Regions from separate parts of the Homo sapiens genome. Here all the other regions are linked to region 3. The links are contacts of gene promoters, found by promoter capture Hi-C in human tissues and cell types (Jung and others, 2019). All regions are on one chromosome and are shown on one strand. The core of a region is centred on a gene start or on the middle of the fragment in contact, and the rest is flanking DNA. Distances in the headings are between cores, read along the strand shown.

Region 1 (4,796 bases), core at 670-3,169, 66 kb before region 3:
AATATGATGAAACCCCTTCTCTATTGAAAAATACAATAGCCAGGCGTGGTGGCGGGCGCCTGTAATCCAAGCTATTCAGGAGACTGAGGCAGAACTGCTTGAACCCAGGCGGCGGAGGATGCGGTGAGCTGAAATTGCGCCACTGCACTCCAGCCTGGGTGACAGACTGAGACTCTGTCTCAAAAAAGAAAAAAAAAAAGGAGATATTAGATACAGCAATAAGTAAAACGAAACAAAGACCCATGAAGACCAGAACTTTAAATTGTCAAAATATCACACCTTCAGTACAATAAAGTGCTAATTATTTACTTGAAAGTATGGTTTGGTGGCCAGGTGCGGTGGCTCACACCTGTAATCCCAGCACTTTGGGAGGCTAAGGCGAGTGGATCACGAGGTCAGAAGTTCAAGACCCACCCAACCAACATGGTAAAACCCCGTCTCTACTAAAAATACAAAATTAGCTGGGCGTGGTGGTGCATGCCTGTAATCCCACTTACTTGGGAGGCTGAGGCAGGAGAATCACTTGAACCCGGGAGACGGAAGTTGCAGTGAGCCGAGATTGCACCAGTGCATTCCAGCCTGGGCAACAAGAATGAAACTTCATCTCAAAAAAAAGAAAAAAAAAAAGTATGGTTTAGGGTGGGTTAATGTACGCTTTTTTCCAGGTGTCCAACCTTATCCAGTTTAACTGTAGCTCTGGAAGACTACAGCACTCCCTCAATCTGTTTTCAACAAAGGACTCCAGAGTAGTAGAGAAGTTTCTGTTCCTTTTTAATAGCCCATGGGCACTATTACACTCTGTTCCTTAAGAACAGTATTTTACAAACTATTTTAAAGCCATGCTATTTTCTGTTAAACAAAATTCTCACACCCATTTTTGTACCTAAAATTCCAAAATTAAAAATGCTTGAAATAAAATTGGTCATTTCAAATCTTTTTCCCTCCCCAAATAGTATGCTCTGTGTCCCCATCCTTGAGAATCATTGCTCTAAACAGTTGTTCAATAGCTTTTTCTGTGACATACTTACTTTGGCAATCAGTTTTTATTTGTAAGCAAAAAGGGTATTTTCATCACACCTCAACTTAAGGTATAACAGCCTTAAGAATGACAAATTAGGGTAAGTGTTGACCAACTCATGATGCAACAAGGATTATAAATGAAGTAACTTTGCCTTGTTTGTTGCTCTTTTTTCTTTTTTTTAATTGAGACAGAGTTTTGCTCTTGTTGCCCAGGCTGGAGTGCAATGGTGTGATCTCGGCTCACCTCAACCTCCACCTCCCAAGTTCAAGTGATTCTCCTGCCTCAGCCTTCCAAGTAGCTGGGATTACAGGAATGCACCACCACGCCCGGCTAATTTTGCATTTTTAGTAGAGATGGGATTTCTCCATGTTGGCCAGGCTGGTCTTGAACTCCCATTCTCAGGTGATCTGCCCGCCTCGGCCTCCCAAAGTGCTGGGATTACAGGCATGGGCCACCGTGCCCAGCCTGTGTGCTTTTTCCCAAATGTTTCTTCATGCTTTAGTGCAAAGGCCAGCACACTTTTCTGTAAAAGGACACAGAGTAAGTATTTTCAGCTCTGTGGCCCATGCTTTGGTCTTTGTAGCACCTACTCTACTCAAGTCTGGAGTTAGTGTGAAAACTGCCACAGACAAATGAATAGGTGTAGCAGTGTTTCTACAAAACTTTACAAAAATAGGCCAGTTTTTGTATGACCCTGCTATATTAACATACAAAACATACTGAATACAGATTCACAGAAAGGCATTACCAAATTCATTTGTCATTCATCTTTTATTTCCTTAATCAAACAAAGGTACAAATTCTAATAAGAAAAAGTGAGATCTTTATGTTAACAAGGGGCTATTCATATTGGAAAGCTGAGAATCACTACTTGGGACACAAAAGTTTGGGTCTCCAGGTCTGACGAAGACTACTATAAAGAAACCTGCTCTAACATTGTAAAGTGCATAGTCTATGCCCTAAGCTGTGCTAAATACTTTCTTTACATGGATGATTTCTTGCATTTGAAAACAAAACCCAATATGAACCTACTATTAACCTCGATTTTACAGGTAAGCAAGCCATGTTTCAGCAAGTTTAGTAATCTGGCAAGGCTGACATAACCAAATTAGTGGCAGAGAAGAAACCAAACTACAGAGCTACAACCACGCAGTCAGTCCTTTACTATGCTAGCCAACCAATCCTCCATGGTAAGAAGATTCACCAGGTTTGAAAGATTGGCTTAAATCCTTTTTTTTTTTTGAGACATAGTCTTAACTCTGTTGCCAGGCTGGAGTGCAATGGCACAATCTCGGCTCACTGCAACCTCCGCCTCATGGTTTCAGGTTGATTCTCCCGCCTCAGCCTTCCAAGTAGCTGAGATTACAGGCGCCCGCCACTACGCCCAGCTAATTTTTGTATTTTAGTAGAGATGGGGTTTCACCATGTTGGTCAAGCTGGTCTCAAACTCCAGACCTCGGGTGATCTGCCCCTCAGCCTTCCAAAGTGCTGGGATTACAGGCGTGCGCCACCCGCTGGCTTAAATTCTTGTACTCTCTGATGGTCTTCCCCTTTGGAAGATCTTAACAATTATCACTGCCTTAGGAGCTCTGATCTTCCTTTTAACTTCTGACCCAAGGATGGACACTTACTTTTTCCTCTTAAGCTTAAGACTTTATCAAGGATAATAACTGGAATTAAAATAGAGAAAAAAATTAGCTAGCTCACCAGATATTCTGAAAACACTGTTCCTGAGAAACCCTTATACGTTTTTATAGGTTGACGTCTTCCTTGGTCTATAATTTCCATGGGACAAAGACATTTCTCTACCTGGGAGTGCCCTTAAATTCAAGCTCTGGAAATCAAGGTCTAGGGAAAAATTCATTCACCAGTCTGAGACCTACCTTCCAGGTCCCCATTTTCTGTCCCAGTTGTCTTTTCTCTAGATTATAAACACTAAACAAACATGTGTGGTCTCTTTAGAGGGGATCCCAAAACCCAGCCCTGGTGGTTTGGTCTTACCTTGTGGCCTCAGAGGGCTACCTTATCATTATATGATAGCCTAACAACAATGTGGTATAGTGGGGCGGGTGGTGAGCAGGTGTCATTTTCCTTAGAGAAACCTACTCTACTTCCCAGCCAGGAGCCACTTAGTTGGAATGGGGACTGACACTTTATAGTTAAGTGAGCACATCACACTGATCTCTAAAACAAGACTTCAGTGGGGCAGCATTCCCCATTACCAGTCCAGCCTCCACAGCTTCTGATGGCTCCCACAGCTGCCCTTTCTTTATTTTGGTGTGACTAGCCCACTGCAGAGCCATTCCCATTACAGCCACTGCTATGTTCCTCTTTTAGGAACAAGTGACTACCCTGAAAAAAGAAGAGATGAAACAAATCACCCTTCAAATACAAAGTAAAATCATTCTTTAATTATTAAAAAAAAATCACTGTTGGGCTTTTTTTTTTAAAGGTCCATAAATTTTCAATGCAATGTTGAACTGGGGAAATGGTTATAGCAGCTCTCACATAAGTTATTTGAATTAATAAACATTATCACAGTATTAAGAAGGCAAGGTAAACAAATAGCTTAAGTATTTTATTTGTTTGCAACTAAGCTTGTTAACACTATATAATGAAAATGTACAAAGAATAATGTTGCAGTTTTTGGTTAGATTTAAGTCAAAGACATTCATTAATAAGGAATCTTCGAATGTGAATATTCCAGAAATTTCTCTAAGCCATCTGATCACAACAACTGTCTCTGAATATTACCTTACTTTGGAAGGTATTGGCATACATTTGAATTAAACTCAGAATTTTTCAAAATAAGCCCTAATTAAAAAAACTATTCTATATTCAAAGTAAAACAATATTAATAGAACTTTCCTTTCCAGAAACAATGAAGGAAACAAGGCATTTTGTAAAATGTGGTCCTGAACAAGTCACAGTAAAAAATAAATGTATACTTAACTTCCACCTCCTCAAAACAGAGGCTACTTTCTGTTCCTCAGCCTTGGAAACAAGGTGAAGAACAGCCTATATGCGACTTCGGGCAGGGGGTTGCCAAAACAAAGCTGAAGCAGTTGACCATGGACACCTCAAAAGAATTTGGGAGAACCCGACCAAAGGATCCAAATTCTATGTTTTTTTTTTTTTTTTGAGACGAAGTCTCGTTTTGTTGCCCAGGCTGGAGTGCAGTGGCATGATCTGTGCTCACTGCAACCGCCACCTCCAGGGTTCAAGTGATTCTCCTGCCTCAGCCTCCCAAGCAGCTGGGATTACAGACGCCTGCCACCACGCCCGGCTAACTTTGTTGTATTTTTAGTAGAGATGGGGTTTCACCATATTGGCCAGGGTGGTCTCGAACTCCTGACCTCAAGTGATCCGCATGCCTCGGACTCCCAAAGTGCTGGGATTACAGGCGTGAGCCACTGCGCCCAGCCCAAATTATATTTTTTAATAACTAATACAAAGGTGAAGTGGCTCCTCCCAAGTAGCAGTGCTGCCGGGGCCTGGCCCAGGCCTAGCCCTGGGCTCACCTCTCATGCTCCCAAGCCAACCCTGATGCTCCTGGCTCCAGGGTAGACCTTTTCCCTTTAGAGGTTCAGTGTCCAGGGAGCTCTATGATAATTGTGTGAATGAGGTGAGCGCTGACTCCATGTGAGTATTTTAAGGCTTGGAGTCAAAGAATTAACCTAACATGCCCAGGCAGAGTCCATGTGTCAATGGCCCGTCTCCAGTTTGTTCTAATTTCTCACCACGTGTCTGTAGATATAGGACCGCAGACCTTCGC
Region 2 (4,645 bases), core at 1,871-4,370, 87 kb after region 3:
GATTGAAGGCGTGAGCCACCGCACCCGGGCCGATTATTGTGACTCTTAACAATTGCCTTTACGTTTCTTTTCTCATGAGAGCTATCTTTTCCCTGTCAGTCCCCGTGGCCTCCCCCTGGACGTTTTCACTTTCTACTTGGTATAGTTACTGCCCTTCTTAGACTGCAAAGTCAGTGAGGGCAGAGTCCAGTCTGTTTCACTTTTTAAATTACTCCTCAGAGCCTGAGGTAGGCATTCAAGTAATTTTTGAATAAACCAGACTTCTTAAGCTTTAGCTGTAAGACTTTTATAATCTTAAAGCAGATTTTGGTAGAATTAATGTTAGCTTTCCCCCAGAAAAACTAATGGAGGTGATAGAGATTGCTACTATTAGTACTGAGTATGGTGCATAGAACATAGGAGAAAAGATTTAGCTCCAAAATAGATTTAATGGAAATTAATTTGGTGTCTTCTTTTGTCAAAAATAAAGGGATAGTGAATACCAATGGATTCACCATTCAGTTTCTACTTTTCAAAAAAAATTTTTTTTTGTGGGATCAAATGTTTAAATGTTAAACCAGGGTGGAATTTTAAATTTAAATTCTGAAGTTTAATAGTCATAAAATTGCCTGTTTTCTTTTAACAGGTGGTGTTTCATAAGATGTCACCCAACGAGACCCTCTTTTTGGAAAGTACCAACAAGATTTATAAGGATGACATTTCCAATAGCTCCTTTGTGAATTTCCAGATATGGGATTTTCCTGGGCAAATGGACTTTTTTGACCCAACCTTTGACTATGAGATGATCTTCAGGGGAACAGGAGCATTGATATACGTCATTGACGCACAGGTAGTCAGTAATGTGTTTACTCCTCTTTCCTGGTGGGAAAAAGATGTAGAAACAAAGGAAAGTTGTTTATCTTCTTTGTCATGTGGTTGCAGCTTATCTCTTTGGCAGTAGATTCCCTAACAGTGTAAGAGATGCAGTTGCAGAGTGCTTTGGGAGCAGACATGCATTGTGCAGGTACAGAATATCAGATGATTAGGAGATATGGTTTACATCCTTGAGTCCTAGTTGATGAGCAGCTAACATTGGCTTTCCACTTTTATTGGTTGCCATATTTTATAATAATTTTATAATAATAGTGATGTTATTCCCTGAAAATATCCCATCCCATAACATAAAGAGGAATATGAGAACTGAGTCAGTAGATATTAGAGTGAATAGTTTACTTAATTGTCAAAATTGAGTTTAGCTCAACAAACATTTATGGAGGGCCTAGCATGTGGCAGTCAGTGAGATGAATGGGGCAAGTCCCTATCCTTTAAGAAGCTTACTTTTTATAAGCTTAAGCATTAGTTAAGAATGCTTTCTGAGTGATAGGCTCTACAGAGGGTGCCTTCACGTACAGGACCTAATTAATTTAAGCTTCACAATATTGTTAGGTAGGTATTGTAATTCTGATCTTACAGATGAGAAAACTGAGATCAGAGTTTAAGCAGCTTGCTTAAAGTGACACACTGAATAAATGGCAGAGCTGGGATTACTTAAAAAAATTATGTTGGGAAAAAATGTTCATATCATTTTTTTCTTTCTTAAATTAATATTAAAAATTACAAGCATTAACTTGGTAATTGAATTTTTTTATCTTGAGACAATTGAAGAGTTATTTAGTAGTATAGTATATTTGAATGTTTGAATATTGATGATAATTAGGATAGTATTTTTCTGTGGTTGGGGAAAGAGGTGGTTTGAGGCTTTAACTCATTACTTGGCTTTTGTAAGATTTATTTTAAAAAATATTTTGTTCTGACTTACAGGATGACTACATGGAGGCTTTAACAAGACTTCACATTACTGTTTCTAAAGCCTACAAAGTTAACCCAGACATGAATTTTGAGGTTTTTATTCACAAAGTTGATGGTCTGTCTGATGATCACAAAATAGAAACACAGAGGGACATTCATCAAAGGGCCAATGATGACCTTGCAGATGCTGGGCTAGAAAAACTCCATCTTAGGTAACAACATGTGTGTTTGATATGAAAGCCCTGAACAAGGTGTAAATGTATTCCCATCTCTGTCATTACAAACACCATAGCTTTCTGCTACCTGTGTGCCCTTTGCCACATCTTTTATGTTTTTGATCTTGTTGTTGAATTCCAGGCTGTCTGGGGAGCCTGATATTGAGAAATTACCCACTTTTTGCGTTTTCCTGGAGATTGAAGTCATGTGAAGTGTTTCCACTGGTGCTTTTCCAAATTCATCTCAAGAGACTGGAGTCAGGCTGTTTCTTCATGGCATAAATCTGCTTTGGGACTCCTTCCTCTTGGTTTCATTACTTTTCCCCGCCTTGCATCAGTGAAGTGAATCTGTCACATTTGTTGTGGAAGTCTTTAGCTTGAGTCTTAGACAGTATCTTTCTCAGTAGGAACAGCCTTATACAGAGAGTGCACTTTCAAATCTGGACTGACTCTTTTTATTTTTCATTTTTATTTTTCCTGCTGGCTCCCTTCCACCTCCCCCCTGGACTGACTGTAATATATCTTAGCTTTTAAAACACTTTATACTTTTATGAAACTCTATAAAGTTTGGCTTAGGTGGGTTTATCTTATAAATGTGCATAAGGCTGCTATTAAATTTAGAGGACTATTGGTTTGTAACTACTGTTAAGAAATTATTATTAAATAATACCTACTTGATAGGATTGATTTGTGTATTTGCATTCTAAAAGTGTATGAGGAATATTTTTGTACATCTTATTTTATTTGGTGATATAGGTAGAAATGAGTATTAAAAAGTACCCAAGAAAATATTCTCTTGACGATAGAAGTAGCTTAAAGAGGGAGAAGGGGAGAGAGACAGCAAGTTATTTCTCTGTCCCCGTTCTATTGTTGTGACTTCTTTATGGGCTCAAGCTAACTGCTATCCCTCCCCCTAAAATTCTCTGGGTCTCAGGCTCCAAGATCTTTCAGTTATTCTTCTAGGAAACCATGTCGAAAAGTCTCATTGACCTCTAGTTTGCCTGGATTAAATTTCTAAATAATTTGAAAATAATTCATGTTAAAAAAATAAAAATTCAGCAATGTTTGTAGGAGAAAATGTAAGTGGCTCTCCACAAAAATTCAGTCTTATTTTTTTGGGAATCCACTGCTAATAGTTTTTTACCTGGATTTTGAGCCGTTCTTGTCCTGTGTTCCCCAGTGCTCCATGGGGATCCTTCTGATTCTCTTTACTCCGTGTCTGTGTTCCTTTCCAGGGCATCCCACCCTAGTGGTACATGCCATCCCTTTCCTCAGTACCATGTAGGGTCCTAGACCTTGTTAACTTCAGTAGAATGTTGCATCAAGCTTTTATTTAGGCCAGGCATAGTGGCTTATGCCTATAATCCCAGCACTTTGGGAGGCCGAGGCAGGCAGATCACTTGAGGCCAGGAGTTTGAGACCAGCCTGGCCAACATGGCGAAACTCCGTCTCTACTAAAAATACAAAAAATTAGCCGGGCATTGTGGTGTGTGCCTGTAGTCCCAGCTACTTGGGAGGCTGAGAGAGGAGAATCGCTTGAACCCAGGAGGTGGAGGTTGCAGTGAGCCAAGATCGTGCCACTGGACTCCAGCCTGGGTGACAGAGCAAGACTCCGTCTCAAAAAAAAAAAAAAAAAAAAGACTTTTATTTAGTACTAGCAGTCCTATGGATGAAGCTCCTTTTCATTTCCAGTTTCTAGAAACTCAGTTTACTAAAATGCCCTGTGACTTGCAGGTTCTCCCTGTCCCCATTTACCTCAAGCCTCAAAGGTGCGGGACATTCTTTCTTTGCTCACCTTTTGGCCTACAGGAAACACTAAAATATTCCTTTCTCCCTAGTATCTATGGGGTCATCTTGGCCTTACCTGTTCCAGTGCTCTTACATCTAGATTAGACCCCTGTCTTGCTAGATTAGGTTCTTAGGTCAGCTCCTTGAAAGTATTTTTTTTTTTTTTTTTGAGATGGAGTTTCACTCTTGTTGCCCAGGCTGGAGTGCAATGATGCCATCTCGGCTCACCGCAACCTCTGCCTCCCTGGTTCAAGCGATTCTCCTGCCTGAGCCTCCCAAGTAGCTGGGATTACAGGCATGCGCCACCACGCCTGGCTAATTTTTTGTATTTTTAGTAGACATGGGGTTTCTCCATGTTGGTCCGGCTGATCTCGAACTCCCGACCTCAAGTGGTCCACCTGCCTTGGCCTCCCAAAGTGCTGGGATTACAGGCGTGAGCCATCGCGCCCAGCTGAAAGTATCTTTAAATTACCTATAAAGTTCTGTGTCTCTGATGTTATATATACGTATAAATGTGTGGTGGATGCGACTATATAATGAAGATTGTACTCCCTGAGTTATAAAGCAGATAGAATTGTTGACAGTGTTTAAATTGTTAAAGGCTTCCCTCTCAAATACGTGTTTTATTGAATCTACATGTGTTACTTCTCCACCGTAAGTCCTTTTAGGCCTCCAGACTCCTGTAGATTCCTCCATTCTCTGTAGAGTCCCGACTCCCATCCTGTTTAATATGCTCTTTACATAAATTGTAAACACCAATTGTATTCATTTGTTTATTCAGCAGATACTTATGAGCACTGTTCAGGGAAGTGGGCTTGCTGCTAGGAGCGAGACTGACAAAGTCTCTTTCCCCT
Region 3 (4,920 bases), core at 2,333-4,832:
TGCAGTAATGAATCTGTTATGCTTTTCTCTGTGACCCTTTATAATGGGGAGGGAAGAGCTCACCCATTCTGCCCATACAGCATTCCCTCAAGTCTTGTCTTAGGTCCTCTTCTTTCTCTCTAATTTCTCTCCCTGAGTGACCTCACCCACTCCCATGGCTTGAGTTGTCATTTCTGTGCAACTCCTAAATCTCTTTTTTCCAACTGTTTGCTGACTCCTCCCCCAACCCCCCCATCCATTCTCTGCCTTGTTCTGTGCCTTGGGGCACCTTGGCCTCTGGCTTCTGGTTGAGTTTAGCTAATGAGAGGAATCAGGAATAGGAAGCTGGAGACTAAAGTAATTGGGATATTCCTTCCTCTGTTTCCATTCTGCTCCAGTGGGGGCTGCCTTCTCCACAACTGTGGCTCTGCCAGGGGCCCTTATCCACAGCTCCAGCTCCCGCTGGATTCAGTGAATGTTACATCTTCTCCTTGTCCCTTCAGGCCTAAGGCTTCCCACTGTCATTCATCCCTGGATATTCAACATCTCTTAATGACTTCCTTTACCCTTCCCAGATCTTCAAATCTAGCTGAAGATGCCTTCTCCTTCCTGCTGGTACCCTGACTGATACATAACTCCTGTCTATCCCTGGAGCAACTACTCCTTGAACATCTCCGCAGGTGCCTCTGACTCAACAGGTCCAGAACAGAATTCATTTCCCCCCAAATTGCTTTTCTTCCTGATCCTGAAATTTTTTTTTTTTTTTTGAGACGGAGTCTTGCTCTGATGCCCAGGCTGTAATGTAGTGGTGCCATCTCAGCTCAATGCAACCTCCGCCTTCCAGGTTCAAGCAATTCTAGTGCCTCAGCCCCCCGAGTAGTTGGGACTACAGGCATGTGCCAACATGCCTGGCTAAATTTTTGTATTTTTAGTAAAGACGGGGTTTCACCGTGTTAGCCAGGATGGTCTTGATCTCCTGACATTGTGATCCTCCCGCCTTGGCCTCCCAAAGTGCTGGGATTACAGACGTGAGCCACCTCACCCAACTCTTTTTCTTTTGAGACAGAGTCTCGCTCTGTCATCCACGCTAGTCTGCAGTGATGTGATCTCTGCTCACTGCAACCTCCGCCTCCTGGGTTCAAGTGATTCTCCTGTCTCAGCCTCCTGAGTAGCTGGGATTACAAGCATTCGCCACCATGCCCAGCTAATTTTTGTATTTTTAGTAGAGACAGGGTTTCACCATGTTGGCCAGGCTTGTCTCAAACTCCTGACCTCAAGTGATCCACCCATCTCGGCCTCCCAAAGTATTGGGATTACAGGCGTGAGCCACCGCGCCTGGCCATTCTTCCTGATTTCTCAATCTTGTTTGTGGTCACCACTATCAACCTAGTTAGTTATTCCAGCTGGAAATCTTCGAGTCATCCTAGATTCCTCCCTTACTCTTTAAGTCCCATCAATGGTACTCCCTTAGCATCTCTTGAATCTCTTTCTCTCACTCCCACCCCCACTCCCTAGCCAATGCCTTGATAAGGCCTACATTATCACTTGCCCTGACTCATGCAACCCTGACTGGTTTTCTTGCCTCTAGTCTTGCCTCCTTCAAACCCTTCTTTACACTGCAGGTCTCAGTGAATTTTTTTTTTTTTAAGACAGGGTCTCACTCTGTCATCCAGGCTAGAGTGCTGTGGTGTGATCATAGCTCATTGCAGCCTCAACCTCTTGGGCTCAAGCTGTCCTCTCACTTCGGCCTCTGGAGTATAGCTGGGACTACATGTGCACACTACCATTGCCCGGATAATTAAAAAAAATTTGTTTTGTAGAGACAGGTGCCACTATGTTGCTCAGGCTGGTCTCGAACTCCTGGGCCTAAGCAATCCTCCAGCCTTGACCTCCCAAATTGCTGGGATTACAGGTGTGAGCCACCACACCTGGCTCCAGTGATCTATTTTAAATGCAGTCTGATAGTTTGTGTCCCTTGTTTAAGGCCTATCTGTGAGCTAGCAGGGTGTGGTGTACCACCTGTAATCCCAGCGCTCTGGGAAGTCAAGGCGGGAGGATCTCTTGAGGCCAGGAGTTCGTGATCACCCTGGGCAACAGAGTGAAATTCCATCTCTACAAAAAATTTAAAAACTGGCTGACCATGGTGGTGGGTGCCTGTAGTCCCAGCTACACAGGCAGCTGAAGTGGGAGGATCACTTGAGTCCAGGAGTTCAAGGCTGCTTCAAGCTATGAGTGCACCACTGCACTCTAGCCTGGGTAACTGAGAGAGATCCTATTTTTTCTTTTTTCTTTTTTTTTGAGATGGAGTCTCACTCTGTTGCCCAGGCTAGAGTGCAGTGGCGCAATCTCGGCTCACTGCAACCTCTGCCTCCCAGAGAGACCCTGTATTGCAACAAACAAACGAACAAACAAACAAACAATCTTTCTATGACTCCCCAGAACCTATAGGACACAGTCCAAACTGTTTACCAAGGCACACAAGGCCCTTCATGATCTGACACTCCCTGCTCACAATTCTGAACTTTGAGTAGTTCCTGCTGAATTCCGTCCCTTCCCATGGCCTTTTCTGTCAGCCTGTGCTCCCCTTCTGTGTGCTCCCCGCTTACAATTCTGGAAAACCCCTGTTCACCTTTCAAAACCCATCTTGTATGTCATGTCATCTAGGAGCTTTTCCAGAACACTTCCACACAGGGGGATTCCTCTCTGGTCCCTTCTGCCTGAATTTTTTTTTTTTTTTTTTTTTGAGACCGAGTTTCGCTGTTGTTGCCCAGGCTGGAGTGCAATGGCGTGATCTTGGCTCACTGCAACCTCCGCCTCCCGGGTTCAAGCGATTCTCCTGCCTCAGCCTCCCGAGTGGCTGGGATTACAGGCATGCACCACCATGCCCAGCTAATTTTGTATTTTTAGTAGAGATGAGGTTTCTCCATGTTGATCAGGCTGGTCTCGAACTCCCGACTTCAGGTGATCCACCCACCTCAACCTCCCAAAGTGCTGGGATTACAGGCGTGAGACACCATGCCTGGCCACCTTCTGCCTGAATCTTGAGCAGCGTCTACTTAGAGCTTCATTCTTTGTCTTCCTAGTAGAGTAGGAGGTCAGGGACCCCGTTAATCTACCTCTTCATCCTCAGGGCCTCACACAAGGCCAGTTATTCTCAAAATGCTTTGAATGAATAATCAGAGCTGGCAAAGCTATTTCACCAGGGGCCATGGTGTCACCAATTCTTCTGTGGACTAAATCTCTGCTGAGGATCGTCAAGTCACCCACCCTGGTGCCCAGTACAGGCCTGGCTTCAGACTGGAGCATAACCAAATGCAGAGTGATAGAGACCACCCGGTTGAGGCGTCAGAGAGCTGAGAGTGGAGAGCAGGGGACCCAGGCATGAAGCAGGAGGGCAGGACTTGGAGGAGGAATGGAGCTCAGTGTCCTGGAGAAAGAGCAGAGGCTGCCACCGGCTCCCTGGCTAAGACCCAAGCAGGCGAAGAGGAGGACTCATTCATCCAGGGCCAGCCCAGGAGCAAGACTGCCAAGCAGGCCGGCCCAGCCCAGCTGGGAGGGGATTTCCTCAGCCTCCCTCCTCCTGGGCTGGGCAGCTTTGGAACCTGTCTGGAGGATTTTTGTTTGGGGAGGGACGGAGGAGCGCCTGGCAGAGCGGGATCTTCAGGGCAGCGGGCAACCCCTTGGCCCAGGAAGCCTGGAACGCAAGGACCGGAGGGCGTGGGCTGGGACGCCCCTACCTTGGTCTTTCAGGGTAAGATGTGGGAGCTGGGAGGGAGTGGAGGGAGTCCTATGTCAGGACAAGGGGGCGGCAGCAGGAAGTGCAGGGCCGAGGGGTGCTGTGCAGGAAGGAGGAGGGACATGTGGGGTGCTTCGCTGGTAACCCCCCTTCTGGAGTGACCTCCTGGTGTGGCCGCTTTGGATCCTGCTACTTTCATTTTAAAAGTTGGCAGCATGTTGGGCCAGGAGTCAGGGGCTATCTTCCCGAGGGAAATGGCAGGGAAGGGCTGAGGATGAGGACAGAGTAATTCCATTCCTCTTCCCTGCCCTTCACACTGGCTTTCCCTCCAGCCATCACGTTCTCCCCAGCACCCCCTACCCTCCTAAGTTTTTCTAACTCCAACTAAGCCAGTTCCTAGCCCTTTGCTGACCTGGACACTGGAGACCACAGCCAGGGAGACAGTCTCCACTTCTACCCGCAAGGCGGCTCCTCCAGAGTTATTTGTTTCCTTCTTCCTGGTGTGGGTATCAGAGAGATTTCACTCAATCTTTCATTTATTCATTAGTGTTCATTTGTTTATTCATCACTGTTTGAGCATATACCTGGATTCTCTGGAGGGAGGGCTGCGCAATTTCTGCTCCTCTTGGGAATAAGAAAACTGAAACTTATTGCTCAAACATTTGATGGTCATCTACAAGCTGGTGGGCAGCATGGCAGAGCAGAAAATTATTTTGGAGTCACAAAGACACTTGGCTTTTTATCCCATATCTCCTGTTTACCTCCTGAGCCTCAGTTTCCTCAGCTATAATTTTTTTTTAAAGAGACAGGGTCTTGCTACCTTGCCCAGGCTGCAGTGCAGTGGCTGATCATAGCTTACTACAACTTCAAACTCCTGTGCTCAAGCAGTCTTCTTGCCTCAGCTTCCTGAGTTAACTGAGGCACGGCGGCCAGCTCAAAATGATATTTTTATGAAGATGACAGGGAACAATGCATGTTGAATACCAAGCTGGGTGCCAGGCTCATTGTGGAGCCTTCCTAAACACCTGTGCTTTTCCCTTCCTCTTTGACTGCCTTCTTGCCATGCCTCTCCCTAACCAGCAACTCCCTCACCTTAGGCTTGTAAAGATATGCTAGACAACCCCTGGCCTTGAAAGCACGTAGGCAGCGTGTAAACAGAACTGGCCAGTGACGGGTGGAGTGGTGAAGGGAGAGGGAAGGTTGGG

The links. Contacts are between HindIII fragments. The study calls those that stand out against the background at their distance.
Region 1: a fragment that was not itself captured here is called in contact with the fragment with the promoter of RHBDL2 in region 3 in 5 of the 25 tissues and cell types used here (H1 embryonic stem cells, IMR-90 fibroblasts, dorsolateral prefrontal cortex and 2 more).
Region 2: a contact is called between a fragment that was not itself captured here and the fragment with the promoter of RHBDL2 in region 3, in 2 of the 25 tissues and cell types used here (bladder and stomach).

The regions. Positions count from the first base shown.
Region 1 is chr1:39,004,674-39,009,469 of GRCh38, reverse strand. It overlaps AKIRIN1 (akirin 1), which reads right to left. Exons shown (of 5, transcript NM_024595.3): 5 at 3,411-4,796. Among named protein-coding and RNA genes, the nearest start is that of AKIRIN1, 16 kb to the right of the region's middle. The HindIII fragment of the contact is 7,880 bases long and covers 1-4,796 here.
Region 2 is chr1:38,853,063-38,857,707 of GRCh38, reverse strand. RRAGC (Ras related GTP binding C) reads left to right here. Exons shown (of 7, transcript NM_022157.4): 2 at 626-829; 3 at 1,801-2,000. Among named protein-coding and RNA genes, the nearest start is that of RRAGC, 4.4 kb to the left of the region's middle. The HindIII fragment of the contact is 4,658 bases long and covers 792-4,645 here.
Region 3 is chr1:38,940,492-38,945,411 of GRCh38, reverse strand. It overlaps RHBDL2 (rhomboid like 2), which reads left to right and starts at 3,582. Exons shown (of 8, transcript NM_017821.5): 1 at 3,582-3,730. The HindIII fragment of the contact is 22,458 bases long and covers 1-4,920 here.